Regions from separate parts of the Homo sapiens genome. Here all the other regions are linked to region 3. Evidence: promoter capture Hi-C in 16 types of primary human blood cells and fetal thymus (Javierre and others, 2016). All regions are on one chromosome and are shown on one strand. The core of a region is centred on a gene start or on the middle of the fragment in contact, and the rest is flanking DNA. Distances in the headings are between cores, read along the strand shown.

Evidence for each region. Contacts are between HindIII fragments. The CHiCAGO score rates a contact against its expected background, and 5 or more counts as called.
Region 1: a contact is called between a fragment that was not itself captured here and the fragment with the promoter of CORO1A in region 3, in 1 of 17 cell types (neutrophils). The highest score is 5.9, in neutrophils.
Region 2: the fragment with the promoter of KIF22 here is called in contact with the fragment with the promoter of CORO1A in region 3 in 1 of 17 cell types (neutrophils); the score reaches 5.0 in neutrophils.
Region 4: a fragment that was not itself captured here is called in contact with the fragment with the promoter of CORO1A in region 3 in 1 of 17 cell types (monocytes); the score reaches 6.0 in monocytes.
Region 5: a contact is called between the fragment with the promoter of PRRT2 here and the fragment with the promoter of CORO1A in region 3, in 1 of 17 cell types (neutrophils). The highest score is 5.3, in neutrophils.

Annotation. Positions count from the first base shown.
Region 1 is chr16:29,695,180-29,700,857 of GRCh38, forward strand. QPRT (quinolinate phosphoribosyltransferase) reads left to right here. Exons shown (of 4, transcript NM_014298.6): 2 at 1-20; 3 at 1,817-1,948; 4 at 2,020-3,520. The coding sequence ends at 2,232. Among named protein-coding and RNA genes, the nearest start is that of QPRT, 19 kb to the left of the region's middle. RefSeq lists an enhancer at 1-348, a silencer at 4,274-4,448 and a cis regulatory region at 5,219-5,678. The HindIII fragment of the contact is 2,648 bases long and covers 1,674-4,321 here.
Region 2 is chr16:29,789,074-29,794,324 of GRCh38, forward strand. It overlaps KIF22 (kinesin family member 22), which reads left to right and starts at 1,678. Exons shown (of 14, transcript NM_007317.3): 1 at 1,678-1,756. The coding sequence starts at 1,687. RefSeq lists an enhancer at 1,089-1,488. The HindIII fragment of the contact is 11,757 bases long and covers 1-5,251 here.
Region 3 is chr16:30,182,351-30,188,267 of GRCh38, forward strand. CORO1A (coronin 1A) reads left to right here and starts at 1,252. Exons shown (of 11, transcript NM_007074.4): 1 at 1,252-1,375; 2 at 2,859-3,057; 3 at 4,248-4,370; 4 at 4,466-4,595; 5 at 4,689-4,873; 6 at 5,032-5,151; 7 at 5,375-5,479; 8 at 5,592-5,737; 9 at 5,842-5,899. The coding sequence starts at 2,860. It overlaps CORO1A-AS1 (CORO1A antisense RNA 1), which reads right to left and starts at 2,438. Exons shown (of 2, transcript NR_186359.1): 1 at 2,154-2,438; 2 at 1,043-1,421. RefSeq lists enhancers at 5-114, 1,533-2,073, 2,074-2,615, 2,616-3,155, 3,156-3,697 and 5 more and silencers at 835-944, 1,085-1,544, 1,575-1,684, 3,055-3,154. The HindIII fragment of the contact is 25,461 bases long and covers 1-5,917 here.
Region 4 is chr16:29,767,574-29,773,405 of GRCh38, forward strand. No RefSeq gene overlaps it. Among named protein-coding and RNA genes, the nearest start is that of ZG16, 7.8 kb to the right of the region's middle. The HindIII fragment of the contact is 4,460 bases long and covers 1,860-5,832 here.
Region 5 is chr16:29,807,778-29,813,554 of GRCh38, forward strand. PRRT2 (proline rich transmembrane protein 2) reads left to right here and starts at 4,416. Exons shown (of 4, transcript NM_145239.3): 1 at 4,416-4,546; 2 at 5,213-5,777. The coding sequence starts at 5,278. It overlaps MAZ (MYC associated zinc finger protein), which reads left to right. Exons shown (of 5, transcript NM_002383.4): 2 at 1-51; 3 at 453-516; 4 at 793-964; 5 at 2,300-3,387. The coding sequence ends at 2,454. MVP-DT (MVP divergent transcript) reads right to left here. Exons shown (of 4, transcript NR_186424.1): 3 at 2,258-2,396; 4 at 867-1,356. RefSeq lists silencers at 1-222, 3,789-3,868, 4,269-4,418 and an enhancer at 303-542. The HindIII fragment of the contact is 10,276 bases long and covers 745-5,777 here.

The DNA of each region.
Region 1 (5,678 bases), core at 1,748-4,247, 490 kb before region 3:
CCGCCGGTGGCGTGGAGAAGGTGCTGGTCCTGCCTGTCCCTGGTCCAACCCCACCCTCAGCACACCCCTCCCCTCCCCTCCCCTCTCCAGAGCCTCCAGCCATGACCGGGTGAACAGCCATGGCCTGGAGTCAGCAACACAAGACTCTTCCCACCTCAGCTCCTCCATCTGAGCTGGGCTCAGTTGAGCTCATCCAGCTAAGCTAAAGGGGAGCTGGGCCTGCTTTTCTTTTTCTGGAGATGGGGCCTCAGTCTCTCCAGTAGCTGGATATACAGGCATGCTCCACCCCACTGGCTAATTTTTGCTTTTTTTTTTTTTTTTTTTTTTTGAGATGGAGTCTCACTCTTTCACCCAGGCTGGAGTGAAGTGATGCAATCTCGGCTCACTGGAACCTCTGCCTCCTGGGTTCAAGCAATTCTCCTGCCTCCGCCTCCCGAGTAGCTGGGATTACAGGCGCCAGCCACCATGCCCGGCTAATTTTTGTATTTTTTAGTAGAGACAGGGATTCACCATGTTGGCCAGACTGGTCTCAAACTCCTGACCTCAGGTGATCCACCCACCTCGGCCTCCCAAAGTGCTGGGATTACAGGAGTGAGCCACTGCACCCAGCTGCCTTTTTTTTTTTTTTTTTTTTTTTTGAGATGGGGTCTCACTATGTTGCCCAGGCTGGTCTCAAACTTCTGGACTCAAGTGATCCTCCCACCTTGGCCACCCAAAGTGCTGGGATTATAGGCATAAGCCACCATGCCTGGTTTTGGAATTGGTTCTTTATCTTTGTTCTGCTGCTGCGTGGCGTGATGTTCAAGAGCAAAGGACAACACAGGGGAAGCCAGTGTCACTGGCACCACAGCCTTGAGCCCATCTCTCTAGCCCTCTGCACCTTATTTCCCATCTGTGAAATGCCCTTAAACACCCCTTCTAATTTTAATATTCTGAGTCAAATTGAGCTCAGGTCCAAATGCCAAATATTGCTGATATTCATCCACTTTTTGACCCACAAAAGTGGTCATTTTAACCTACAATAAAACATCCTGGCTCAGTGGCTCATACCTGTAATCCCAGCACTTTGGGAGGCCCAGTTGGGGGGATTACTTAAGTCCAGGAGTCTGAGACCAGCCTGGGCCATATAGCAAGATTCTGTCTCTACAAAAAATTAAAAAATTAGCCATGCTTGTGGGCAAGCCCCTGTAGTCCCAGCCACTTGGGAGGCTGAGGTGGGAGGATCACTTGATCCCAGGAGGTGGAGGCTGCAGTGAACTATGACTGCACTGAACTCCAGCCTGGGCGACAGAGCGGGACCCTGACTCAAAAACAAAACAGTGGCCAGGTGCGGTGGCTCACGCCTGTAATCCCAGCACTTTGGGAGGCTGAGATGGGTGGATCACGAGGTCATGAGTTAGAGACCATCCTGGCCACCATGGTGAAACGTCGTCTCTATTAAAAATACAAAAATTAGCTGGGCATGGTGGCACGCACCTGTAGTCCCAGCTACTCGGGAGACTGAGGTGGGAGAATCACTTGATCCCAGGAGGTAGAGGCTGCAGTGAGCTATCATTGCACCACTGCACTCCAGCCTGGGCGACAGGTTGAGACCCTGTCTCAAAAACAAAACAAAGCAAAAACAACCCCAAAGTCTGGTTTCCTTATTAACCCCAAGTTCATGGTCCACCCGAAGCTTTTCAAATGTCAGTCCCGGCTCCCCGCGCCCCAGCTGCAGTGCTGGGCCCTATCGTCACCCTCGCCCTCCCGGCTCCCTGCGCCCCAGTGCCAGGTGCTGGGCCCAGTCCTCACCCTTGTCCTCCCGGCTGCCCAGCAGGCGGTGCGGGCGGCCAGACAGGCGGCTGACTTCACTCTGAAGGTGGAAGTGGAATGCAGCAGCCTGCAGGAGGCCGTGCAGGCAGCTGAGGCTGGTGCCGACCTTGTCCTGCTGGACAACTTCAAGCCAGAGGTAAGGTGGGCTCTGCCTCCGGGGAGGGATCTGTGGTGGGCTCTTACCTCCCCTTGGCTTGTGTCCCGCAGGAGCTGCACCCCACGGCCACCGTGCTGAAGGCCCAGTTCCCGAGTGTGGCTGTGGAAGCCAGTGGGGGCATCACCCTGGACAACCTCCCCCAGTTCTGCGGGCCGCACATAGACGTCATCTCCATGGGGATGCTGACCCAGGCGGCCCCAGCCCTTGATTTCTCCCTCAAGCTGTTTGCCAAAGAGGTGGCTCCAGTGCCCAAAATCCACTAGTCCTAAACCGGAAGAGGATGACACCGGCCATGGGTTAACGTGGCTCCTCAGGACCCTCTGGGTCACACATCTTTAGGGTCAGTGGCCAATGGGGCACATTTGGCACTAGCTTGAGCCCAACTCTGGCTCTGCCACCTGCTGCTCCTGTGACCTGTCAGGGCTGACTTCACCTCTGCTCATCTCAGTTTCCTAATCTGTAAAATGGGTCTAATAAAGGATCAACCACATGGGGTTCTGCGGTGATAATGAGCACATAGTGAGGGGTCAGCAAATGTCAGAAGTTACCTGGGACAGCCGGGCACGATGGCTCACACCTGTAATCCCAGCACTTTGGGAGGCTGAGGCGGGAAGATCACTTGAGTTCAGGAGTTTGAGACCAGCCTGGCCAACATGGTGAAACCCCATCTCTACCAAAAATAGAAGAATTAGCTGGGTGTGGTGGCACGCGCCTGTAATCCCAGCTACTTAGGAGGCTGAGGCAGGAGAATCGCTTGAACCCAGGAAGTGGAGGTTGCAGTGAGCTGATGGTGCCACTGCACTCCAGCCTGGGTGATAGAGCGAGACTCTGTCTCCAAAGAAGAAACAAAGGAAAGAAAGAGAGAAAGAGAGAGGGAGGGAGGGAGGGAGGGAAAGGAAGGATGGAAAGAAAGGAAGAAAGGCAGGCAAAAGCCCCAGACAGGCCAAAACCTTCATCCTTCATGCACCCAACCTGTACCAAACACCAGCATGGCCTGGCTGTGAGTGCACAGCAGATGGAGGTTTGCTGGGCAGAGACACTGGGCTGGCCTAGACACTGCCTTTGGTGATACCCTAAACCAAAGGGGCCAGTCCCACAGTAAGAAGGAGACCACTACTACTCCTGCTGCCCTCCTCCCCCCACCTTGCCTAGTTTACAAGACAGGAGGAAAGAGAGAAAGCAAAAAGTTAGAAAACAAAACAAAACAGAAGTAAGATAAATAGCCAGAAGACCTTGGCGACACCACCCGGCCCTGGTAGTTAAAAAAAAGTAACAATAATAATAATATCAACCCCTGACCTAAACTACTTGTGTTATCTGTAAATTCCAGACATTGTATGAAAAAGCATTGCAAAACTTTCTGCTCTGTTAGCTGATGCGTGTAGCCCCCAGTCACGTTCCCCGCTTGCTTGAGATATCATGACCCTTTCACGTGGACCCCTTAGAGTTGTAAGCCTTTAAAAAGGCCAAGAATTTCTTTTTCAGGGATCTCAGCTATTAAGATGCAAGTCTGCCAATGCTCCTGGCCAAATAAACCTCTTCCTTCTTTAATCCGGTGCCTGAGGAGTTTTGTCTGTGGCTCGTCCTGCTACAAGAGGACACAGCCCAGAGGTGCCACCTGCAGCTGCCCTGTCCCCTCTAATCCCAGCTCCACCCTGCCTGCTCCCGTCCTTCCTCCAGGGGGAACATGGACACGCTCAGATGAACCCCAGCTTCTTATGCCTGAACTGGGGAAACTGAAGCCCCATGGGACCAGGGGTTCCACTGGGCATCAAGGGAGGAAAGTTGAGCCCCGGGGTGATCTGGGAACTGGGATCTGGGATCTGGGCAGGCATTGGGGCCTGACAGAGCAGAAGTGAGGAGAGGGTACCAGGAGCTGCAAACTCGGTGCCTCCAGGACCTATTCGGATAAAATAAATGGGTGGAACTGGAATAAGACAAAGTGGGGGTGCGCTGTGGCCAACTGGAAAATGCTCGTTGCAGCCACAGCGTTCCATTAAAAAAGCGAAAGGAACCTGCCTGCCTGAGTCTTAAGCTCCCCCTAAACCCAGAAATGGGTTAGCCCTCCAGTATCCTCCAGCTCTGAGAGCTGGGGCGGGCACTCCATTACTGGGGGAACAGGAAATGGATCCTGGGCACTCTAGGGCAACACACGCCCTCCTTGCAGGGAAATGGATTTCCAGGCAGGGGAGATGCATGGGCAGAGGTGGCTTGGATTGTTTGCTGTAAGATTTGAAGCTGTGATCAGGAGGTGGCTAGGAGATGGGCTGGGTCCAGACCACAAAATGGTAGATCGGAGGATTTGGACTCTGTCTCATGAGTGAGCTGGAAATCAAGCTGGAAAATCAGATAAGCTTATTCGCAGCTTCAATCCAGTCCGTTGCAGAAGGATGCATTTGAGGGGGCTAGAGCAGCTGCAGGGAGGCCAGGAGGAGCTGTGGAAGAGGACTTGAGTGTGGGTCATGGCCATGGGGTTTGGAGAGAAGTGATACAGTGTCTTCAGAGCTTCAGAAGGCAGAGGGAGTTCGATGGCTCAAGGCAGTTGGAAGAGTTGGGTGTGACTGAGGGGGTGGGGAAATGGGGCATGCGTGGCAGGCAAGGACTCTTATGCATCACCTCCCAGTCCCTTGTCCATCTGGCTACACTTCCTCTTTGCCTGGCCAGCCTAGGACCAAGCTGGGATCATTTCCCCAGGATGCCCCACAGACAATGGCAAATGTGCCCATCATAGCAGTTTGTTTAATGAAAATGATATGCTGTTGTGAGTACGGGATGTGCCAGCAATGCTGGCTACTGCATGAGACGGGAGCTAGCAGGGAGCACCTTCATCCAGGGTGTGCAGGTCCCCTTCCCTCAGTTAATGCTCGTGGGGGCGGGCGTTAGCCTCTCCACTTACCGAAGAGGAGACTGAGGCTTTATAAAGTTAAGAGAGCTGCTTAGGGTCACTCATCAATAAAGTGGTGGAGGCCAGTCATGGTGGCTCACACCTGTAATCTCAGCACTTTGGGAGGCTGAGGCAGGAGGATCACTTGAGCCCAGGAGTTCAAGACCAGCCTGGGCAACATAGTGAGACTCAATTTCTATTTTTAAAAAATTATCCAGCTGTGGTGGTGCACACCTGTAGTCCCAGCTACTCAGGAGACTGGGGTGAGAGGATCGCTTAAGCCTGGGCAGTTGAGGCTGCAGTGAGCTGTGACTGCACCACTGCACTCCAGCCTGGGTGACAGAGGCCCTGTCTCAAACAAAAATAAATAAATAAATAAATATATAAAGTGGTGGAGCAGTTTGAATTGTGTCATTCACTCATTCAATATTTAACTGAGCATCTACTGTGTGCCAGGCACTATTCTAGACAATGAACATACAACGAGTAAACAGATAAAAATCTCTGTCCTCAGGGAGTCTGTATGTTGGGGTTGGGGTGGGGGCGGGGAAGAATAGACAATGAAAAAATACTTAAGGAAAATATGTAGACACCAATTGTCCTGATGGCCACCCCTGATGGCCACCAGAGGGCACTGCAACCACGCGGCCCTCCGTTCGTCTCTAATTCCAGCTCCCTTTCCGGATTCCGAAGGCAATAGCCAAGGAGGCTATGAATACGCAGCATAGCATCTGCTCAAGAATCAACGCGAGGAGGCATTGGCAGCAGTTTTTTCTCCACCCACTTTTCCAGCCTCATCCCCTCATCAGACCCCCATCCAACTGC
Region 2 (5,251 bases), core at 428-2,927, 390 kb before region 3:
TCATTCCAAAATATTTAATATTTCCATCACCCCCAAAAGAAACTCGTTATATCTATTGCTGTAGTGCCAGCTCCTCAGCCCCTCACCATCCCCTGGCAACCACTACTTAGATGTCCTTTTTATGTCTATGGGTTTTTTACTGTAATTTTTAAATTCATTAATGTCAACTTTAATTTAGTTTCACTTCACACACAGTATATACGGCCAGGCCTGGTGGTTCACACCTGTAATCCCAGCACTTTGGGAGGCCAAGGCGGGTGGATCACTTGAGGTCAGGAGTTTGAGACCAGCCTGGCCAACATGGTGAAACCCTGTCTCCATAAAAATACAAAAATTAGCTGAGCGTGGTGGTGCACACCTGTAATCCCAGCTACTCGGGAGGCTGAGGCAGGAGAATCACTTGAACCCAAGAGGCAGAGGTTGGAGTGAACCGAGATTGAGCCACTGCACTCTAGCCTGGGAGATGGAAGTGAAACCCCGTCTCAAAAACAAAAAAACAAAAACCCTCATATACACAAAACATCTTTGGAGGCCTCATTTTTAAAAACTGTAGTGGGATCCCAAGGCAAAACGTTTCAGAAACACTGATCTAAGATTTGTGTTTTTTGTTTTGAGACGGAGTCTCACTCTGGCGCCGTGGCTGGAGTGCGGTGGCACCATCTCGGCTCATTGCAACCTACACCTCCCGGGTTCAAGCGATTCTCCTGCCTCAGCCTCCCGAGTAGCTAGGACTACAGGCGTGCCACCATCCCCGGCTAATTTTTGTGTTTTTAGTAGAGACGGGGTTTCGCCATGTTGGCCAGGCTGGTCTCGAGCTCCTCACCTCAGGTGAGCCTCCCGCCTCAGCCTCCCAAAGTGCTGGGATTACAGGACTGAGCCACCGCGCCCGGCCCGTGTTTTGTTTTGTTGTTCAACAGGGTGGAACATAATGTCTAAACCTGGGCCCTACCTACCTGGTGCTCAAAAGTGGAATGACCGTCCCTAGCCAACCCTTCAGAAAGGACAGAGAGCTACTCAACGGACTGCTGTACTCTTAAGGACTGGGAACCGGAACCGTGGGTGAGTGGGACTGAATCACAGACTAAGCGTTTTCCACGCTTCGCCGACGTGCTGAGTGCCAAGTTATAAAGACAGGAACATCCAAGCTGCTCTCCTGGGCTGACACGGACGCGAGGGGACCTACAGTGGCCTTGGGCCCAGCAGGCAGCGACTGCAACGTGACTGCCCAGAGTCCAGCCCCTGGGGCCCAGATCTACAGAACCGACCAGACGTGATAGCCCTTTGGCTGGGGCTGCAGTCCCACGATCCACACAACGACCCTGGCTCCGCAGACGCGCCAACCACCCACGGAGGCAAGAAACTGCAGAAAGTAAAGGGAAAGGGAGCCCAGTGCCGGGCGGCGCTGAGCAGCTCCCCCAGCGGCCACCGTCGCCAACATCCCTGCGTAGGGGTTTGTATCGCAGCGCGCTTCCAGACATCAACGGCTGCGCGGCCCACGCGCGCGCATGCGTCCTGACCAGGGGAACCTTTTCTTGGGGACCCGGAGGCGAGCGCTGGAAGGCGGGATAGTGGCGACCCACACGCAGCAGCTTCCGGCGGCGCGTAGTCTTGATTGGTGGAACCTGGGAGAGGGGGCGGGGCACCGGGGAATTCGAATGGGAGAGGCGGGCCCAAGGAGGGAGTGGAATGGCCGCGGGCGGCTCGACGCAGCAGAGGCGACGCGAGATGGCGGCAGCTTCAGCGGCGGCGATCTCAGGTACTTGAGCCCGGCCTGGGCAAGGCGGGTACCGACGTCTGGAGTTTAGTGGGAGTTATGTGTCGGAGTGTGGTCCAGGCTCTGCGGGTTGTCGCGGAGAGGCGGCCATGGCGCAGGGGCGGGGAGAGGGGGACGGTGAGAGTGTGGGGTCGCGAGCCGGTCGCCCCGCCTGGCTCCTGCCTTCTCCCTGTTTCCTGCTCTCCCCTTGGGTCAGTAGACTCGGGTCTCCGGTCCAGGCTCTTGGCTTGAACCCCGCGCACTTTTTCTTTGTGAGCTTCGGTTTCTTCGTCTGTGAAACGGGGGTCATGGCCTCATCCCTGGAGATCACCTGAATAAGCAAGAGAAGAGTGGCGGACGCTCTAGCCACGAGGACGAGAAGAAGGGAGCCGGAGGCGTGTATTGGGAAGGGTTCTGTGTGGGACATGGTGTTTGGGTGCAGAGACATCCCTGAGAGATGCAAGAGGACGGGCTGAGGAACAGACCCGGCTGCTGCTGGGTTTGAGTTGGCAGCGTAAGATGCTCTGCGATTACAGGAAAACGAAATAAAAGACTAAAATTTCCTTTCACTCTAGCATGGAAGTGAATGCTATTTTAGGGTTGGAAAGGCTGTTAGGACACCCAAAATCTTGTATGTGAGTATTTGTTTACATGTGCCTCTCTAACCCGGAGACTTAATCCTCGTTAGTGATGATGGTGAGCGCCATAGTAATTCACTGGAGCCCTCGTTAGCCTCGTGGGGAAACAGACATTTAGGAGAATGCCTAACACATGTAGAGCTCTTGCTATGTGCCAGGCACAGTTGTAGGCATTTTATGGTGGTGAACCATTTATTGTCCACACAATGCTATCAGGTTGTTACTATTACTGTCTTTGTTTTACACAGGAAACTGAGGTTAGTTTGTTCAGAGTTAACACAACTAGTAAATATTGGGGCTTGAATTCGCTCTCAAGGAGTCTGAGTGTAGAACCTCTGCTCTTAACCATTATGCCCAAGTACATGTTATCCCTGCTGGCTGAGCACAGTCTCCCCTTACCCTTCGAAGATGCACTGTGTCCGGTGCATGGTAGATATGAAAATGCCTGAATGAATAATGTCCCTTCCTCGAGGAATTTACAGTCTGTTTCAATAGAGTGTCACATACGTAGATGTAATACGAAACACAATGAGAGATGTGTATAAACTGAGGGTGTGGAATCTGAAGTAAGCCCTTGAGTATTCTGGGAGGACTTCATTAAGGGAGTGAATGATACTTGAGATGGGTTTCAAAGGTTGGATAGGAGTTTGCCAGGCCTTGACTAAGAAGACAAGAACAGCAAGTGTTTTCTTATTTATGATGTAAGATGCTCTCTTAGCTCAATTTCCTCATCAATAAAAGGGAGAAGAGTGAATGAAATTTAGGAATTGTGAAAGAAGGGAAAATTAATAATTGCTAGCCTGGTCCAAGCTCAAGGTTGCTTTTATCATGAAAGGGCTAGACTCTTGTGCAGTAAATAATTGTTTACATGTGGCCCTCCCCTCTTCCCTCCTACCCTGGACTGTGAGCCCTGGGGCAGGAATGGCCGTGAGCCATTTTCATGATGGAAATGAACAAGCCAGTGATTAGTAGTTTATTCACTAAATCTTAATTTTTTTCAGCAAATACTTCTTGAGGGCCTACTCTGCGCCAGGTGTTGGGGTTAGAAAGGTGAGCAGGATAAAACTTGTTCTCACAGTTGGCAGTCAGGTGGAGAAAGTGACAAACACGCAATAGTGGGGTGTGACAAATGCTTATGGAGGGGCTAACATGAGCTGTGGTTGCACCTGATAAAGCCTTAGTGTCTACCAGGAAAGGGTTTTTGGTTTTGTTTTTTAAGAGGAGTTAAAATGTGTTTACCTTAGTCACTCCAGGGTGGGGTGGGGAGCAATGCAGATATTCTAGGGAGAGAGATTAACGTGGACAAAAATCCAAAGGTGCAAGAGAACTTGGAGTTTTGTAGGAAGTGAAGGAAATTCATCATGACTGGTAACTTACACTGCAAGGAAGGAAACAGAGGGAATGACTAGAGGGCAGGGAGACACCTTGCTACCACCAGCAAGGAAGGCTGTAAAGACCATGACCTTGGGCAGAGGTAGTGCAGTGGGAGTGGAGAGAAGTGGACTTGTTCAAGAGAGATTTAAAGAGATAGACTTGACAGATGTTAATGATGAACTGATGTGGGAGGTAAGAGACGTTGGAGTTAAAGACTCCCACTTTTGGGGTTGGTGCCATTCATTTACATCAGAGATCAAAGGAGGAGGCTGCAGAGAGATGGGGAAGGAGGGTTCAGTTTAGGACAGGTGGAGTTTAAGAGGAGCCGTCGGCTGGGCTCACGCCTGTAATCCCAGCATTTTGGGAGACCAAGGTGGGTGGATCACGAGGTCAAGAGATCGAGACCATCTTGGCCAACATGGTGAAACCCTGTCTCTAAAATTAATCAAAAATTAGCTGGGCGTGGTGGCGTGCACCTGTAGTCCCAGCTATTCGGGAGGCTGAGGCAGGAGAATCGCTTGAACCGGGAGGCGGAGATTGCAGTGAGCCAAGAGCGCCACTGCACTCCAGCCTGGCGACAGTGAGATTCTGTCTCAAAAAAAAGGAGCCGTCAGGGCAGCCGTTCAGAACGTGGGCTGCAGTTGAGAGCTCTTGTGCAGAACGTGCAATAGGACTTATCAGCTGTAAGATGTTACTGAAGCCAAGAGGGCGGGTGACCTGCCTATGAAATGAATCTGAGTGGTCTCAGCTCGGGGCAACTTTGTCCCTCACAGGACATTTGGAGATGTCTGGAGAGATTTTTAGTTGTTACAACTTGAGGGTGAGGGTGGAGAATGCTACTGGCATCTAGTAAGCATATGCTAACAGTCTAAATGCACAGGACAGCCCCACAACGGAATTAGCCAGCCCGAAATGTCAGTAGTGCTGAAGTTGAGAAATGCTGGTCTAGAGAAAGGATAGACGGATCCTAGGATGAGGAGTGAACAGAAAACTAGGTAAGACAACCAGGAAGGTGGGGGGCATGGAAATGAAGGGAAAAGTGTGTTTCCCAAGAGTGTCGCATACTTCTGGGAGGTCCAACAGGATTGAGGCTGAGTATGCCTACTGGATCTAGCACTAGGGAAGTCATGGGTGACCCTGCTGAATAGTGAGGGCAGAAGCAAGTTGCAGGGATGGAGGAGTGGGTAGCAAGAGAAAGGGTGTAATAATAACAGCTAAGGACTGAGCAGTTGCTGCCAGGCACTGTGCTAAACATTGTATGTACATTATTACTTTGAATCCTCACATTCTTATGAGATGCAAAGATGAAGGGGCTAAGGAGGCTGAGGAGGGTTCATATAAAGCACTTTGGAGTTAGATCTTCATTTGAAGCTGTCAGTCACTAGCTGTTGACCCTGGGTCAGTCAGCTAACCCCTCTATACTGAGGTTTCCTCATCTGGAAAATGGGAGACGGACATTAAAAAGCACTTACTGGCCTTTCACCAA
Region 3 (5,917 bases), core at 2-2,501:
GGCTCAATCTTGGCTCACTGCAGCCTCTGCCTCCAGGGTTCAAGCTATTCTCATGCCTTAGCCTCCTCAGTAGCTGGGATTACAGGGGTGCATCACTACACCACGCTAATTTTTGTATTTTTAGTAGAGATGCGGTTTTACCATGTTGGCCAGGCTGGTCTCGAACTCCTGACCTCAGGTGATCCGCCAGCCTTGGCCTCCCAAAGTGCTGGGATTACAGGCGTGAGTCACTACGCATGGCTGAGAGCTAACGTTTATTAAGCACCCGCCACTTTCTAGATGAGGTCCTTACTGACTTCCTTGGGTTATTTTAGGTAATCATCCCCATACCTCTTACGTGGCAGGTATGACTGTTACAGAGGGAGAAACCGAGGCTGAGAAAGGCTAAGTAGCGGCCACACCTCACTCAGCAGGTGACAGGCTGCGGTCGCACTCATGACATAGTCTGACTCTAGAGCAGGCCTTTCCTGCCCGCTGTTGCTGCCTCCAGAAGCCTCTCTGAATCCAAGGGTGGGAACTATTCCTCCTTGCCCTCGAGCCTTCGCCAAAGCCAGGGCTTGGAGCGGCCGTGGGCTCCTCCTCCTTCCCCCAGGCTGGGCTCTTCAGGGGCGGAAACCTGCCTGGCTTGCCTGCCTTGCTCGACCCTGTAGCCCCTGGCACGAAGTAGGTGCCCGTGATGCCGGATTATTTCAGCAGGAGGGCAGGGGTGTTCCCGATGAAGCCAGGAGATCCAGGGAGGAGAAGCGACTCCCGGGGCCACCCATGCTTAGATCTCAGAGCCAGGCAAGAGCCAGGTCCCGGGGGTCCAGGAGCGCGCTCGGGGCTCCTCCTCGCCCGCGCCCCCCGCGCCCCTCGCGCCCCCCGCGCCCCCCGCGCCCCCTGCGCTCGCGTCTGCGGGGCCGGGAGGAAGGGGCGGCGCAGCCGGGCCGGGGCGGGCACCGAGGCCTGGCGGGCGGGCCTGGGGCGCTTTCGTGCCTGCCAGGGAAAGGCTGGCGAGGAGGCTGGGGGCGGACGCAGGGAGGAAAGAAGCAATGGGGTGCTCTTGCGTTTTGACATTTTAAAAAGAAGTTTAGATTCGCTTCCCGGAGCCGGGATGGCAGCCTGCGCTATGGTTGGGGACCAACGTGGTGCACGGGCAGGGGCCGGGGAGAGAGGCGGCCGCAGCGGGAGCCCGGGAGCGCAGGGCGGGCCTGGAAGAGCTCCGCCCCAAGGGGCGCGGCCACCCCGGAGGCGGGCGCACGGCTGCTTCTCATTCATTGTCTTGACAAGAGCATCTTCAGCGGGCGAGTCCCCGGCTCCTCCAGCTCCTTCCTCCTCTTCCTCCTCCTCCTCCACCTCCGGCTTTTGGGGGATCACTGTCCTCTCTCGGCAGCAGGTGAGGCTGGGCCTGGGAGGCGCGGGTGGGCCGGGGCGAGGGCCACCTGTGGGGCGGCGCGCGCGTGGGAGCCGCGGGCTGCGGGGGCGCGCGGCTGTCACCGCGACCCAGCCAGCGCCGGGGCCAGGTAGCGGGCGCAGCAGCCCGTGGGGGGACGCTGCTTGGAGTGGGGGCCGCCGGGGCCCCAGAGCGCTCTGCGGAGGCGAGGGCTAGGGACCACCGCGGCCAAGATGGAGGTGGGTGGCCGGGGGTCAGCACAGTGTCGAGGGCCCGACTCCCCACGGAATTGAGTCTCGGGGAGGGTGGGGACGAGGGCAGGGTGGGGTGAGCGGGGCAGCTGCCCTGGGCTTGGAGACAGGAAGGGGTTGAGAGCAAAACAAGAAAAGACCAAGTTCCCCTTTCCGTGGTTTCCGGGCCTGGTACCTGTGGTGGGGGAGGAGGCAGGGTGGGGCGATGGCTTCCTGTCCCCCACCTCTGGTCCGGGGCTCCCCTCTCTCCAGATACAGGCTGCTCCTCAAGACTGGGGCTCTTCACATACGCTCCTCACCGCTCTTTGGGCAGGCCGACCTAGCAGCCTCTTCGGGAGTCCTGGGGTGGCCGGGGGTGCTGGAGCCCCCAGTGAGTAGGCGAGGCTGAGGCTAGGGGCAGAGGCTCTGGGCATGGCACCCTCCAAGCGGCAGCACAGGCCCCTTCCCTGAGCAGGAAGGTGATGCGGTGGCACAAGGTCGCCCCTGGAGTTCCTTGCTCCCCACCCAGACACTGGGGGAAACCATCCTACCTGGACCTCAGAGCAGTCGGAGTGGCCTCTCCCTTCCTGTGTGCAGTTTACATGGGGGTGGAGATGGCTCTTAAGGGCACCTGCTTTTCTGAGCGGAGGCGAGAGGCAGAGGTATGGGGAGGAGGAGATACCTGGACCTGAGCCAGAGACCTGCTGGGGAAGCTATCCTGCCGCCTCACTCCCCTCAGGCAGCCCCCACGCCACTTCCTCCTGTGTCCAGCCCCATGCCAGCAGGCGAGGGAGGCCAGCTCCTGTCCCTGCCTTTAGGAAGCGCTGTGTGGGTGTGAGGGAGGTGGGCTCTGGACACGGTAACTAAGAGAGAACCCACCCTCGGAGCCATCTGGGCTGATGACGCCTGAGTCTGAACCATTAGGAAGGACGGGCTCTGCATCCATCAGCCAGTCAGTCAACAAACATGCAGTGGGGCAACACCACGCCAGGCTCTGTTGCAGAGGCTGAGGGTACAGATTGAGAGGGTGGCTCAGAGTGGCCTGGGGCCAGGGAGAAGGGGGCTTGCAGGTTAGAGGGAAGGAGAGGCTGGGGAAGGCAAGCAGGCATCAGCCACAGAGGGAAGAATAGGGAGCCCCTGGAGATGATGCTGGGACCTTAAAAGCCAGACTGAGGGGTGTCCTGGGGGAGGTGGGGACCACTGGAAGATCAGAGTTGACCTGAAGGGAGAAATGCTCTTATGCTGTGTGCCCCCAGAATGAGCCGGCAGGTGGTCCGCTCCAGCAAGTTCCGCCACGTGTTTGGACAGCCGGCCAAGGCCGACCAGTGCTATGAAGATGTGCGCGTCTCACAGACCACCTGGGACAGTGGCTTCTGTGCTGTCAACCCTAAGTTTGTGGCCCTGATCTGTGAGGCCAGCGGGGGAGGGGCCTTCCTGGTGCTGCCCCTGGGCAAGGTGAGCCCCTGGGGCCCTGGGGGGAGCAGCTCCTCCACCGGACCCATGGCTCTGTGCAGGTCCTGATTAGGTGACGGTCACCAGGCCTTCCAGGGCCTGTGTTGCCATCTGGAAAACTGAGCTGGGCCCCATGAGCCTTACACTTCCTCCAGCTCCTCTGTGCTGTGGCTGTGTGGAAACTGACGCTCAGAAGGAGCCAACACAAGATGGGTCACACCAGTGACCAGGACTACAGACAGTCCTGCAGACCCATGATCAGCCCTCCTGAGCCTCAGCCTGGGGCTTTCTCCCCATGGAAACACAGAGGGGGTTGGGATGGGGTCTGGGGGCCCTGGCAGCGTTCTCAGGGTTGGGAGGGACTCTGGCTCTGGGCCTGTCTGAGGACCTAGCAACTCTGTCCCCCAGCTCGCAGGCAGGGATGATGCAAGAGGTGCTCTCCCCCACCCGCAGCCCTGCCCTCCCCTGGAGCCTGCTGCCCCCTCCGCTGGCTGGCTGCTGCCCCGCACCCCCAGCACACTCCTGTGCTCTTTGGGGGGTAAGACAGGAAGGGGAGATGGGCCCCAAGTTGTTACCTTAAAAGGGCTGATGGAAGCAAAGAGAAGAGGAAGTGGTTGTCGGGGTGAGAGCTGGGCCCGCGCCCCACATGGCTGTCACACAGGAAGCCCTGCTGAAGCAGCTGTCCCCGGAAGAAGCCATTTCCAAACCTCTGCTCCTGCCTGGGGCCAGTTGGGACAGGCTCCCTGGCCCCTCTCCTTTTGGGAGGACCCACCCCTGCAGCCCCACCACTCACACTCGCTCTCTGGGGAGCTGCCTCCACCCCCCCAGCCCCCATACACCTGTCCTGGCTCCAGGGCCAGTTGTGCCCATGGAAGCCTCACTCGGGGAAGCTGGGGTGGGGGTGCCAACCCTAAGGGCAGAGACAGACTGAGACAGAGACCGGCGGGAACTCTGCCAGGGTCTTGCACGGCCCCCAACCTCTGCCATGCGTGGCCAGCCCTCCTGGGGTTTGCCCAGGCCATTTTGGGACTGGAACAAGAGAAGAACAACCCGCCCCCGTCCCCACCCCAGGCCCTGGTCCAGCTCCCAGGGACACCACAGCTTTCCTCTCTGGGCCTCTCTGAAGGAGGTGTGGGGAGGTTGGATTGGGTTTGGGAGGCAAAAGCACCTCCAAGGCCCTGCTGTGCCTTTAGACTGGACGTGTGGACAAGAATGCGCCCACGGTCTGTGGCCACACAGCCCCTGTGCTAGACATCGCCTGGTGCCCGCACAATGACAACGTCATTGCCAGTGGCTCCGAGGACTGCACAGTCATGGTGAGTGGTGGTGGGGACCCAGGGGCTGGGAGAGGGGCTCTAGGATGGGATCTGACATTTGGAGTCCTGAAGACTCACTGGCCCCTCCTCTGCAGGTGTGGGAGATCCCAGATGGGGGCCTGATGCTGCCCCTGCGGGAGCCCGTCGTCACCCTGGAGGGCCACACCAAGCGTGTGGGCATTGTGGCCTGGCACACCACAGCCCAGAACGTGCTGCTCAGTGCAGGTGCTGCGGGAGGAGGGGCTTGGGGGTGGCTCGTGGCCTGCAGTGGATGAGGGCAGGAGGCTCATGGCTTCTGACACTGTGGGGAACGTGCAGGTTGTGACAACGTGATCATGGTGTGGGACGTGGGCACTGGGGCGGCCATGCTGACACTGGGCCCAGAGGTGCACCCAGACACGATCTACAGTGTGGACTGGAGCCGAGATGGAGGCCTCATTTGTACCTCCTGCCGTGACAAGCGCGTGCGCATCATCGAGCCCCGCAAAGGCACTGTCGTAGCTGTGAGTCGCCATCTACCCTGACCTTTGACCCTACAGCCTTTATCCTTCTTATCCACCATCAGCCAGGCCCTTGGATGCTGCCCTCCCTCGCCTCCACCTGGGACTGGCCCCGTAGGGTATGTACGGGTGCCTGACCTACCACCTCCCTTTCCTTGCAGGAGAAGGACCGTCCCCACGAGGGGACCCGGCCCGTGCGTGCAGTGTTCGTGTCGGAGGGGAAGATCCTGACCACGGGCTTCAGCCGCATGAGTGAGCGGCAGGTGGCGCTGTGGGACACAGTGAGTGCTGGGGCAGGAAGCCGAGGGCCCCCAGGCTGGGAACCAAGACTGGAGGTTTCGTCCCTGCTCTGCCACTCACCTGGCAGGATGGCCATGGGCCTCAGTTTACCCAGGCGTGAGATGGTTGTTCCCACTGGTTGGTCGGGAGGGCCCTCACAGGTCACTGCCCAGGGAAGACCACCATCCCAGGGCCTGGGATGTTACCTCTCACCTGTGTCTACAGAAGCACCTGGAGGAGCCGCTGTCCCTGCAGGAGCTGGACACCAGCAGCGGTGTCCTGCTGCCCTTCTTTGACCCTGACACCAACATCGTCTACCTCTGTGGCAAGGTGGCCTCGTCGGGCGGGGTGGGGGTGGGAGGTGGGCAGGATGGGCCTGGAGAGGGCCAGGGCAGTGGGCATCCGCTGGTATTGACCCTCCCTCCACACCTGCCACCTACAGGGTGACAGCTCAATCCGGTACTTTGAGATCACTTCCGAGGCCCCTTTCCTGCACTATCTCTCCATGTTCAGTTCCAAGGAGTCCCAGCGGGGCATGGGCTACATGCCCAAACGTGGCCTGGAGGTGAACAAGTGTGAGATCGCCAGGTGACTGACCCCCGGCCCTGACCGCAGCATGCTCCTTGGGCAGTGGGCAGTCCCAAGCCCACCCAACCAGACTGTGGGCCCCGCTCACCTTCCCCTTCCCACAGGTTCTACAAGCTGCACGAGCGGAGGTGTGAGCCCATTGCCATGACAGTGCCTCGAAAGGTGATGCTCCCCCGCCCC
Region 4 (5,832 bases), core at 2,840-5,339, 410 kb before region 3:
CGCCACCATGCGCAGCTAATTTTTGTATTTTTGGTAGAGACAGGGTTTCACCATGTTGGCAGGCTGGTCTCAAATTCCTGACCTCAAGTGATCTGCCTGCCTTGGCCTCCTGAAGTGCTGGGATTACAGGCATGAGCCACCATGCCTGGCCAGATCTCCAGATTTTAAGTTGATGCCTTAGAATATCACATTGTCGTATGTTCTAGACAGTGATCACTCTTCTGAGGAGGAAAACTAATAAAGGGAACAAAGGGCAAATAAATTAAACAAAGGTCAAAACCAAAGCATTGCAGTTGCAAAGCAATTCAGTAGGAGATGTGGAAATTGTGAAGCAGAAACTCCAAAGTTAAACAAAGTTACCATGTAAATTACACCACAATAAAAACAAACGAACAAACAAAAAACAGAAAGTTAAAACCAGGAGCTTCAGTTGTCCAAATCAATGGACATAAAATTCTTCTTCCAGTCTTATGATGCATTTGACAAGATCTCCAGTATCTACTCAAGTTAACCCATGAAATATAGCTAATGGTAGATGAGTAAGATAAAGGCTGTCCAGATCTTTATCTGAAAGAGGCCGAAAAGAAAGACCAGAGTATTTCGTGAAAATCTGAAGGGAGAATAAAAATTTCACTTACTACCTACCACGTGCCAGGCCTGTACCAGGGGGTTGAAAAAAATTGGTGGGTCTTATTATCTCCAATTTACAGATGAAAAAACTGAAGCTCCAGGCCGGGCACAGTGGCTCATGCCCTTAATCCCAGCACTTTGGGAGGCCGAGGCAGGTGGTTCACCAGATTAGGAGTTGGAGACCAGCCTGGCCAATATGGTGAAACCTCGTCTCTACTAAAAATACAAAAATTAGCCAGATGTGGTGGCACTTGCCTGTAGTCCCAGCTACTCGGGAGGCTGAGGCAGAAGAATAGCTTGAACCAGGGAGGCGGGGGTTGCAGTAAGCCGAGATCACGCCACTGCCCTCCAGCCTGGGCAACAGAGTGAGACTCCATCTCAAAAAAAAAACAAAAAACAAAAAAAAAACTGAAGCTCAGTGGGTTACATGGTAGGTAAGGGCTGGAGCCAGGTGTTAAACCCATGTATCTGTTAAAATTAAAACTTAAGACAAATTAAATTTAAGAGAGTTTAATTGAGCAAAGAACAATTCACAAATCAGGCAGCTCCCTGAACCAGCATAGGTTCAGAGAAACTCTGGGGCTGCCATATGGTTGGATAATAATTATAGACGGAAAAAGGAAAGTGACATACAGAAAATGGAGATGAGGTACAGAAATAGCCAGATTGGTTAAGGTGTGGCACTTGCCTTATTTGAACATGGTTTGAACAGTTGGCCACTTGTGATGGGCCAAAACTCTGTGGTTGGTATAAGAGAAGGTTATAGTCTATTTACATGTCCAGTTAGGCCACTAGGTGAGGAGAAACCTTTAGGCCTAAATTAAAATATGTAAGGAGGCAGCTTTAGGCTAAACTTAATTTAACAATTCTCTTGGCCATGCGCGGTGGCTCATGCCTGTAATCTCAGCACTTTGGAGGGCCAAGGCAGGCGGATCACCTGAGGTTAGGAGTTCGAGACCAGCCTGGCCAACATAGTGAAACCCCATCTGTACTAAAAATACAAAATTTAGCTGGGTATTGTGGCAGGCGCCTATAATCCCAGCTACTTGGGAGGCTGAGGCACGAGAATGGATTGAACCCAGGAGGTGGAGGTTGCAGTGAGCCAAGATTGTGCCGCTGCACTCCATCCTGGGCGATAGAGCTAAGCTCAGTCTCAAAAACACAAACGAAAACAAAGAAAACCAATTATCTCTTTTTGGCCAACTTTCAATTTTGAGAGATTGATAAAAAGCTTTAGGCATTGATGTCACTCTGTCACCACCGTGAATGGACTTTTTTGGTCTAAAATCCCACTAGGAAACATAGCAGTGGGTTTTGTAAGGTGGGAATAAGGAAATAGAGCAATAAGGAAAAACCTCGTTATTCCAGGTTACTTTTTTGGGATGGGTTGGAGCAGAGGGGAGCTTCTTATTATGCTGGAATTTGTTTTCAGGAGGAAAAACCTGGTCTGTTTTGGGATCTCTCTGCTTTCTTTGAAGTTTGAGTTTGATTATGTAGCATTTAGCATGGGTGACTCCATTTTGGTTTGGTCTTTTGGGGTCTAGTTCAGGAGCTCAGGCCAGAAAAACAGCCTCCCATAACTTTACTTAACATCTCTTTATAACATTCTGTCCACAAATGCTTGGTACGTGGCTATAGGTTTCTGGCTTAAAAAATGATTAACAATGTACCCTTACCTACCCTGAATCTGAGCCCCTGCAGCCTCTCTCATACTACTGTGGCCACCCAAGCTGCCCTGAGGTTTCCCAACCAAGGTGGCTCACATCCGTATTCCCAGCACTTGGGAGGCTGACGTGGGAGGATCACTTGAGCCCAGGAGTTCAAGACCAGCCTGAGCAACACAGTGAGACTTCATCTCTACAAAAAGTAAAAATGCAAAAATTTGCTGGGGGGTGGTCCCAGATTCTTGGGAGGCTGAGGTGGAAGGATCAATAGAGCCCAGGAGGTTGAGGCTACAGTGAGCTGTAATAGTGGCACTGCACTCCAGCCTGAGGTACAGAGTGAGACCCTGTCTCAAAAAAGAAAAAAATAAATAAAAGTGAATAAGAAAGCAAAGAAAACCCAATACAAACCCTGCAAGAAGAGAGACAGAGAGGTGAGGAAAGACAAAGGAGGAACGGTTCATAGAAGTCTCGTTGTAGCCTGGGCCCAAGGTGCTGTATTCATTGGATAACCATCCACGGATGCTTACTCTGTACCAGGTGTGATGCCAGATGCTGGGAATTTGGAGATGACTGAGTCATGGCCCCTGCCTGAGAATGAGCTCTCAGTTTAGTGGAGAAGGCTTACATGTAAACATATAAATTATAGTGCAGGGTAATTAGAACCATAATAGAGTAATGTAGGAAACACACAGAAGCCAAAGAAAGGAATGATGAATTCTATTTGAAGAGGAGGAGCTGGGAGGAGAAGAGAGCTGAGGCCTTCCTGTGAGAAGGGTGGGTGGTGGTGCAGGCTGGTGGTGGTCCCCTCTGAATAACCTGGAGGTTGCCAGGTGGGCAGAAGGAGGAGAGCATTTTAGGCAGCTGGAGTGTGCATGGGCAGAGTTGAAGATTAGCAATTGCAGGTCACTGTGGGCGGAGAGCAGGACTCCCCTTGGCAACCTGGTGAAGTCACTTCTGCCCATTACTTTATTCATTGGAACAACTAAGAGTGAACAGAAAAGCAGCGCTCATGCCGTCAGACCCTTCTTCCAAATGAAAACGTGCACCAAGGCCCAGTGTATAAATAGGAAGCAGATAATGTTTTTTTCTTAACAGGAAACAGATCTCCCACTGTTTGGAAATATATTTTGAAACTTTTTTTTTTTTTTTTTGAGACGGAGTTTCACTCTTGTCACCCAGGCTGGAGTACGATGGCGCGATCTTAGCTCACTGCAAACTCCACCTCCTGGGTTCAAGCGATTCTCCTGCCTCAGCCTCCCAAGTAGCTGGGATTATAGGTGCCTGCCACCATGTCTGGCTAATTTTTGTATTTTTAGTAGAGACAGGGTTTCACCATGTTTGCCAGGCTGGTCTCAAACTCTTGACCTCAGGTGATCTGCCAGCCTCAGCTTCCCAAAGTGCTGGGATTACAAGCGTGAGCCACCGCAACTGGCCAAAACATTTTTATTATTTTATTTTATTTATTTATTTATTTGAGACACGGTCTTACTCTGTTGCCCAGGCTGGAGTGCAATGGCATGATCATAACTCTCTACAGCCTCAAACTCCTGGGCTCAAGCAATCCTCCGACCTCAGTCCTCCAAGTACTGAGACTGCAGGTGTGTACCACTATGCCCAGCTAATTTTTTTTTTTTTTTGAGATGGAGTCTCGCTCTGTGGCCCAGGCTGGAGTGCAATGGTGCGATCTCTGCTCACTGCAGCCTCTGCCTCCCGGGTTCAAGCCATTCTTCTGCCTCATCCTCCCAAGCAGCTGCAGCAGATTACAGGCATCCACCACCATGCCCGGATAATTTTTGTATTTTTAGTAGAGACAAGGTTTCACCATGTTGGTCACGCTGGTCTCGAACTTCTGACCTCAAAGATCTGCCTGCCTTGCCCTCCCAAAGTGCTGGGATTATAGGTATGAGCCACAGTGCTCAGCCCTCAAATAATTTTTTTAAATTAGTTTTTTAGTTTTTGTGGGGATGGGTGGGGGGGGTCTTGCTATGATGACCAGGCTGGTCTCAAACTCCTGGCCTCAAGCTATCGTCCTGCCTTGGCCTCCCAAATTGCTAGGATTACAGGCATGAGCCACAGGTGTCGGAAACCTTCTGGATGGGGGTGGAGAGGCAGATCCCCACCACAGGTCTGAAATTGCATCAAAACTTTGAAAAGAGGGCAAAGCTGCTTCACCTGAGAGAGGGAGGAGCTTTCAGGGGAATTCTAGATGGGAGGGGAGAAGGTCACACCACATCTGCCATGCCTGTCTCCACTCTTACCCTGCCCAAGTCCCTCCTCCACTTTATCAAAATCAGGAGAGAGCAATCCTTCTAAAATGCAAATATGAGCATGTACCCCTCTGTTCAAAACCCTTCCATGTCTCCCCTCACTGTGAGAAAAGAAGCCAAACTCCTCCAGGCCGGGCGCGGTGGCTCACACACCTGTAATCCCAGCACTTTGGGAGGCCGAGGCAGGCGGATCACGAGGTCAGGAGTTCGAGACCATCCTGCCAACATGGCGAAACCCCGTCTCTACTAAAAATACAAAAATTAGCTGTGCGTGGTGGCGCATGCCTGTAATCTCACCTACTTGGGAGGCTGTGGCAGGAGAATCGCTTGAACCAGGGAGTCAGAGGTTGCAGTGAGCTGAGATTGCATCACTGCACTCCAGCCTGGTGACAGAGTGAGACTCCATCTCCAAAAAAAAAAAAAAGCCAAACTCCTGACCACACCTCTCAGGCTCTGCACACTCTGCCCACTGGCTGCTGCCCAGGCCTCACAGGTCGGCTTCCCTCATTTCCCTCCAGCCACCCTCCTCTCTTCATTATTTCCAAATTCATCACACTTTCAGCTTGTTATCTATGGCAGATAACCTCATTATGGCAGAAAATAAGACTGAAGCATGTGACCAAACATAGACAGACTTTTTCACAAGATAGTCAGTCTCTTGGGCTTATTCAAATTCCAAAGAGAATCATTTACAAGTTAATTCCTATCTTTCGGGTCCATTCATTTCTCCTTTTAAAATATTTTTTTTTTGTTTATTTATTTATTTATTTTGAGACGGAGTCTCGCTCTGTCACCCAGGCTGGAGTGCAATGGCATGATCATAACTCTCTGCAGCCTCAAAATCCTAGGCTCAAGCAATCCTCTGACCTCAGTCCTCCAAGCACTGAGACTGCAGGTGTGCACCACTATGCCCAGCTAATTTTTTTTTTTTTTTTGAGACGGAGTCTCGCTCTGTGGCCCAGGCTGGACTGCAATGGTGTGATCTCTGCTCACTGCAGCCTCTGCCTCCCGGGTTCAAGCGATTCTTCTGCCTCAGCCTCCCGAGTAGCTGGGATTACAGGCACCCGCTACCGTGCCCAGCTAATTTTTTTGTGTGTGTTTTTAGTAGAGATGGGGTTTCACCATTAGCCAGGATGGCCTTGATCTCCTGACCTCATGATCCGCCCGCCTCGGCCTCCCAAAGTGCTGGGATTACAGGCGTGAGCCACTGCGCCCGGCTATTTTTTTGAAACGGAGTTCTGCTTTTGTTGCCCAGGCTGGAGTGCAATGGT
Region 5 (5,777 bases), core at 3,166-5,665, 370 kb before region 3:
CGCTGTGCACAAGCCCTACAACTGCTCCCACTGTGGCAAGAGCTTCTCCCGGTGTGCACGGGGCCTCGGCCGCCCGCTAGGCCGTGGGGAGGGAGGGACGCGACGGAGGTGGCCTGGCCGTGGCTGGCGGGGAGGGAGGCGGCTGCTGAGGCTGGGGAAGGGGAGCCACTCCCAGGGCGGAGGGAGGAAGCCTCTCCCGGTTACCAGGGAGCAAGGGGTGGTCCTTTGTCGAGGAGGTGGGCCTTGGGGTTGACGGAAGCTTCGCGTGGGAGGAGGCGGCGGCGGCGGCAGCGGCTGCTGGGCTCCAGGGGAGGGATTTCCTGCTTAAGTGTCGCTGTGACGGCCTGGGCTCCGGGAGGAGGCGCAGGGATCCTCGGAAAGGCCTGTGGTGCGGTTTGGTGGATTTGGGGCGCACCACCTCCGCCCTAACCCCAACCCCAACGTGTCCCCAGGCCGGATCACCTCAACAGTCACGTCAGACAAGTGCACTCAACAGAACGGCCCTTCAAATGTGAGGTAGGAAGCCCGCCTCCTCCTGTCTTGGTTTTCATGATTTTGATCCTCATGGTAGCTGTCTGAGTCAGTCTCTCAGACCCCCTTTTTCTCTCTCTTCTTTTTGCCTTTTTGCTCCATTTTCTCATCCCTTCTTCAAGGCCTCATCATGTCACTCCCATTTCCTACAGATCAAAGATCCCCAAGGCTCTGATTCCTTTAATCTCTTGCTCCCCCCTCCCCAGCCCACCAAGCTTTAACTCTCCTGTGACACCCCCCACGCCCCTCCCCCCTCCTCAGAAATGTGAGGCAGCTTTCGCCACGAAGGATCGGCTGCGGGCGCACACAGTACGACACGAGGAGAAAGTGCCATGTCACGTGTGTGGCAAGATGCTGAGCTCGGCTTATATTTCGGACCACATGAAGGTGCACAGCCAGGGTCCTCACCATGTCTGTGAGCTCTGCAACAAAGGTACATGCCGAGGGCTGCCGGGAGGGCCAGGGGCAGAGGGTGGGCGCCTGGCCAGACGCCTTGCCACGGATACGGGTTAAGGGTGCTGTAGCCAAGAGCTCGTGGCGTCTAGATTCCTACAAGAGGTCAAGGGAGCAGCGGGGGGACACCTGAATGAACATCATTAGACTCTAAGAAGTCCTGGTTGGAAGAGATGATCTGCCAGAGAGGTTGAACCTCCTGGTAATGTGTGGGGAAAGCGGGAGTGGAACTTGGCTGCTCTGGGGAAGGAGTAGTCAAGAAAGCCAGTTCCAGGGGTCACAAGGCAAGGTTTCCGCTGCGCAGCCACAAGGTCTTGTCTCCAGCTCCTGGGGCAGGTGGAGTACACGGGCCGGGCTTTACCAGCACGCACCCTGCACGGGTAGCAGAGAAAGCTGCCTTCAGTCAGACTCACCGGTTAACTGGGTTGAGACCGCGGGGCACTGGAGGGAAGGGGACACAGCCGTCTCTGCTGAGGGTCAACCCTGCAAGTGGCTAGGAGTCAGTGTCTCGTCATCCTGGGAGAGGTCTCCCGGCCATGGAGAATGAGTTCTGTAGGTACCAAGGCTGAGAAGCGGGCACCACACAAGCCAGGCCCCAGGCTCAGGGAGGGGCTGTGTCTACCAGCCCCAACAGAGCAGTTGGCCCCAGGCTACCAAGGATACCGTGGGAGGAGGACAGGGCCATCTGAGGAGGGCATCCCCCGCCTAGGAGATCAGCCCCGTCTCTGGGGTCTCCGCCTGGCTGACCCCCGCCCCATCCCAATCCACCCCCCAATAGGCTTCACCACGGCAGCATACCTGCGCATCCACGCGGTGAAGGACCACGGGCTCCAGGCCCCGCGGGCTGACCGCATCCTGTGCAAGCTGTGCAGCGTGCACTGCAAGACCCCTGCCCAGCTGGCCGGCCACATGCAGACCCATCTGGGGGGGGCCGCCCCCCCTGTCCCGGGAGACGCCCCCCAGCCACAGCCCACCTGCTGAGGGGGACCCCCGCACCCACCAGGCAAGGCGTGGGGCATGGCTGGGGGGCGGGATGGGGGGTGTGGGGGACAACGGGGCTCAAAGGGCCCAATAGGGGATCTCAGGAAGGCGAGGGATGCCCATGTACCACTCAGGCTAGGGAGACTTCTGGGCACAGGGAGGATCCTTGAGAACTGCTCTGTCTGGGTGAGGATGCAGGCTGAGGCCTCTGGGGTCCAGATAGGAAGTGAGCAACGGCTGTGTCCCAGGGGAAGCAGGCTGGGAAGGTGTGGGGTGAGGGCAAGGCTCTTGCCATTCAGATCGCGCTGTGATCCGTGGTGTTTCTCCTGTGCAGGTACTGGTGAGGTTTGTCCAATGGCGGCGGCAGCGGCAGCGGCGGCAGCGGCAGCAGCGGCAGCAGTAGCAGCCCCTCCCACAGCTGTGGGCTCCCTCTCGGGGGCGGAGGGGGTGCCTGTGAGCTCTCAGCCACTTCCCTCCCAACCCTGGTGAGCTCCAAGTTGGTTGCGGGGGAGAGGGGAGAATGGAGTAGAGTCCCTTGGTACAAGCTCCTCTCCCCCCTCTTTTCCCACCAACTCCTATTTCCCTACCAACCAAGGAGCCTCCAGAAGGAAAGGAGGAAGAAATGTTTTCTTAGGGGAATTCGCTAGGTTTTAACGATTTGTTTCTCCTGCTCCTCTTCTGTCAGACCTGACCCCACACAAACCTGTCCCCTCGGTTGTGTTGAAGTCCCCTGGACAGTGGGCAGGGGTGGCAGAGGACACGAGCAGCCACTGCCCGTACCCCCTCTCCTCTCTGTAAGCCCATGCCCTGTCTTCCCAGGGACTTGTGAGCCTCTTCCCTCGACGGTCCTCTTCTCTCCTTCCAGTCCTCTCCCCCTGCTGTCTGCAGCCCCTCCCCGGGGAGTTGGTGCTTTCTTTTCCTTTTTTTTTTTTTTCCAGGGGGAGGGAGGAGAGGAAGGAGGGGGATCAGAGCTGTCCCAAAGAGGGAAAGCGGTGAGGTTTGAGGAGGGGCAGAAGCAGGGCCGGCAAAGGTTGTACCTTCATAAGGTGGTATGGGGGGTTGGGGTCAGGCCCTGAACATCGTCCTACTTGAGAATCTGTCAGGGGAAAAAGTCAAGGGGAGCAGGAGGAAGAGCCAGGAGGGCCAGAGGCAGAGAAGAGATGGAGTCTTAGGGGCCAGGGTGAGCGAGGGGTCCAGGGCCTAGAGGTGCTTCCTGGGGGCGGGGGAATGCAGCCAGTGTCCCCCTCCCCTCTTCCACCCCAGCTCCAGCCCTGGTCTTGTCTTTTCATCCCTCTTCCCCACGACAGAAGAAGTTGTGGCCCTGGCCATGTCATCGTGTTCCTGTGTCCCCTGCATGTACCCCACCCTCCACCCCTTCCTTTTGCGCGGACCCCATTACAATAAATTTTAAATAAAATCCTGTTTCTGGCTCTGGATTGAATGAATTGCCCTCACTAAGAACTGCCGCCAACCCCAAGGGTTTCTTCTCGGCCTGGTGTCCGTCAATCCAGCCTTGCTCTGCCCTGTGAGGCTGTGAGGTTCTGGCTCCGCCCTCCCCAGGGGCAGCCTTACTGGCGGCAGCACAGATACAGGGCGGGGCCAAGGCTGTGGCTGTGGAGAGCAAGTTCCAGGTCTCTGGGGAATTCCCAACTCGGACAGGCCCAGAATAGCCCCTGGAGGTTTGAAGAGGCCCCGTCAGAAACCCAAACAGAGCTGCCAGACGGGAATGCCGCCCTCCCCCGTCCACACTCATGGCCGCTGCTCAGCCCCCAGCCGCATCCCTCCCCACGCGCGTCACGGCCCTGAGGCCATGGTGGGTGGATGCGGCTGCGGAAAGGCTGGGGAGTCCGAGCCCTAGGACTGGGAGCAGCGAGGTAGAGAATGAAAGCTGCACCTGTCCCTCATCCTGGGCATGGGCCACTCTGTGTTTACACGGGCTCCTCTGCCCAGCTCCTCCTGCCCCTTGGAATTCCCTTTCCTGTCCCCGCTCCGTCCTTTCCAGGGCCCCTTTTTTGAGCCTTCCAGCGCCAGTTTCTGCCGCTCCTTTCTGCAGGCTCCATTCTCTCCAAACCCCACCCTGCTCCTCCTCTGCAGCCTCCCCGCGTCTTGCCCCATCTTCCTTGCCCTCCTGCTCGTAGAGACGCCTCCACCCGGTCCTGCCTGTCTCACTGGTCCCGTCTCCTCGCAGAACCCTCTCCGTTTCCCCCAAATCCCCGTCTCTTCCAGGAATCCCGGTGACCGTTGGCGGGAGGGGCCGGGGACTTAAGAAGGAGGCGTCTCTCCTGGAGGCGCGCGTGAGAAGGGGCAGGGAGGGGGCGCGAGTGGTCCCCGGGCCGGTTGCCTGGGTAACGCGTGGCTCCCTTGGGCTGGCGGGAGGGGCCGGAGGCTCGCGAGGGGCGGGGGCGGCGACGGCGGCGGAGCGTAGGGGAGGGGACCGGAGAGGAGGGGATGAGCACACGGGAGAGGAGAAGAGGGAGACCCGCCGCCTCCCTCCCTCCCTAGCTGACTTGCTCCCTCCCGGGCTGCGGCTGCTGCAAAAGCCAGCAGCGGCAGCGGGAGCTGTCCGGAGGCCGGCGTCGAGGTGAGACCCGGGCAGACTGAGGCTGCGGGTAGGAGTGGACCGACCGACGGCTGACGCCGGGCGGACTGCACGGGAATGCGGGTGTCTGGAGGGCTGGTGGTGGTGCTGGGCGGGCTGAACCATCGGGAGGAGGCGCCAGCCCACCGAAGGCGAGGGAAGCCCCGGGAGAGGGGCTGACAGGGGATCGAAGGAGATAACCAGGTCCCCCAGAAAGGGGCGGGAGCGTCCTCGCCCTAAACGCGCAGCAAGAAAACCCGCACCGCCTGGGAGCCCAGGGAGGAGGGGAGGATGCAGAGGGAGTGGAATGCGAATGTCGGGTCCTCTGCCCAGTCGGCCTGTCGGAGTGCTATTTGCACAGCTCGTTGATTTTGGGGTGCTGGGATCTGAGAGTCTGGATCTTGTTGGATGGACCCAGGGAGAGACCCTGGAGAAGGTCCTGTTTACAAAAGGGTTAATCTTCCCCAGGGCTCTCCAAGCAGAAGACTTTGAGTAGAGCACTCCTCCCGCAGGGATGTCCCACCCTAAGGCAAAGGAAACCCCAACTTTTCTTCCTCTCCCTAGAGGCAGTGCAAGGCTGGCCCTGAGACAGGAATGTGGCCCAATTGGGCCTGCAGTGCTGAGCGCCCTCTTCCCTCCTCACCCCAAGCCTATCTCCTCCTCTTCCAGGGTTTGCCGCTGTCTCTGCTATTCCATCCTCCCCATAGGGGCTCTCTCCCCTCTCCCATCTCAAGATGGCAGCCAGCAGCTCTGAGATCTCTGAGATGAAGGGGGTTGAGGAGAGTCCCAAGGTTCCAGGCGAAGGGCCTGGCCATTCTGAAGCTGAAACTGGCCCTCCCCAGGTCCTAGCAGGGGTACCAGACCAGCCAGAGGCCCCGCAGCCAGGTCCAAACACCACTGCGGCCCCTGTGGACTCAGGGCCCAAGGCTGGGCTGGCTCCAGAAACCACAGAGACCCCGGCTGGGGCCTCAGAAACAGCCCAGGCCACAGACCTCAGCTTAAGCCCAGGAGGGGAATCAAAGGCCAACTGCAGCCCCGAAGACCCATGCCAAGAAACAGTGTCCAAACCAGAAGTGAGCAAAGAGGCCACTGCAGACCAGGGGTCCAGGCTGGAGTCTGCAGCCCCACCTGAACCAGCCCCAGAGCCTGCTCCCCAACCAGACCCCCGGCCAGATTCCCAGCCTACCCCCAAGCCAGCCCTTCAACCAGAGCTCCCTACCCAGGAGGACCCCAC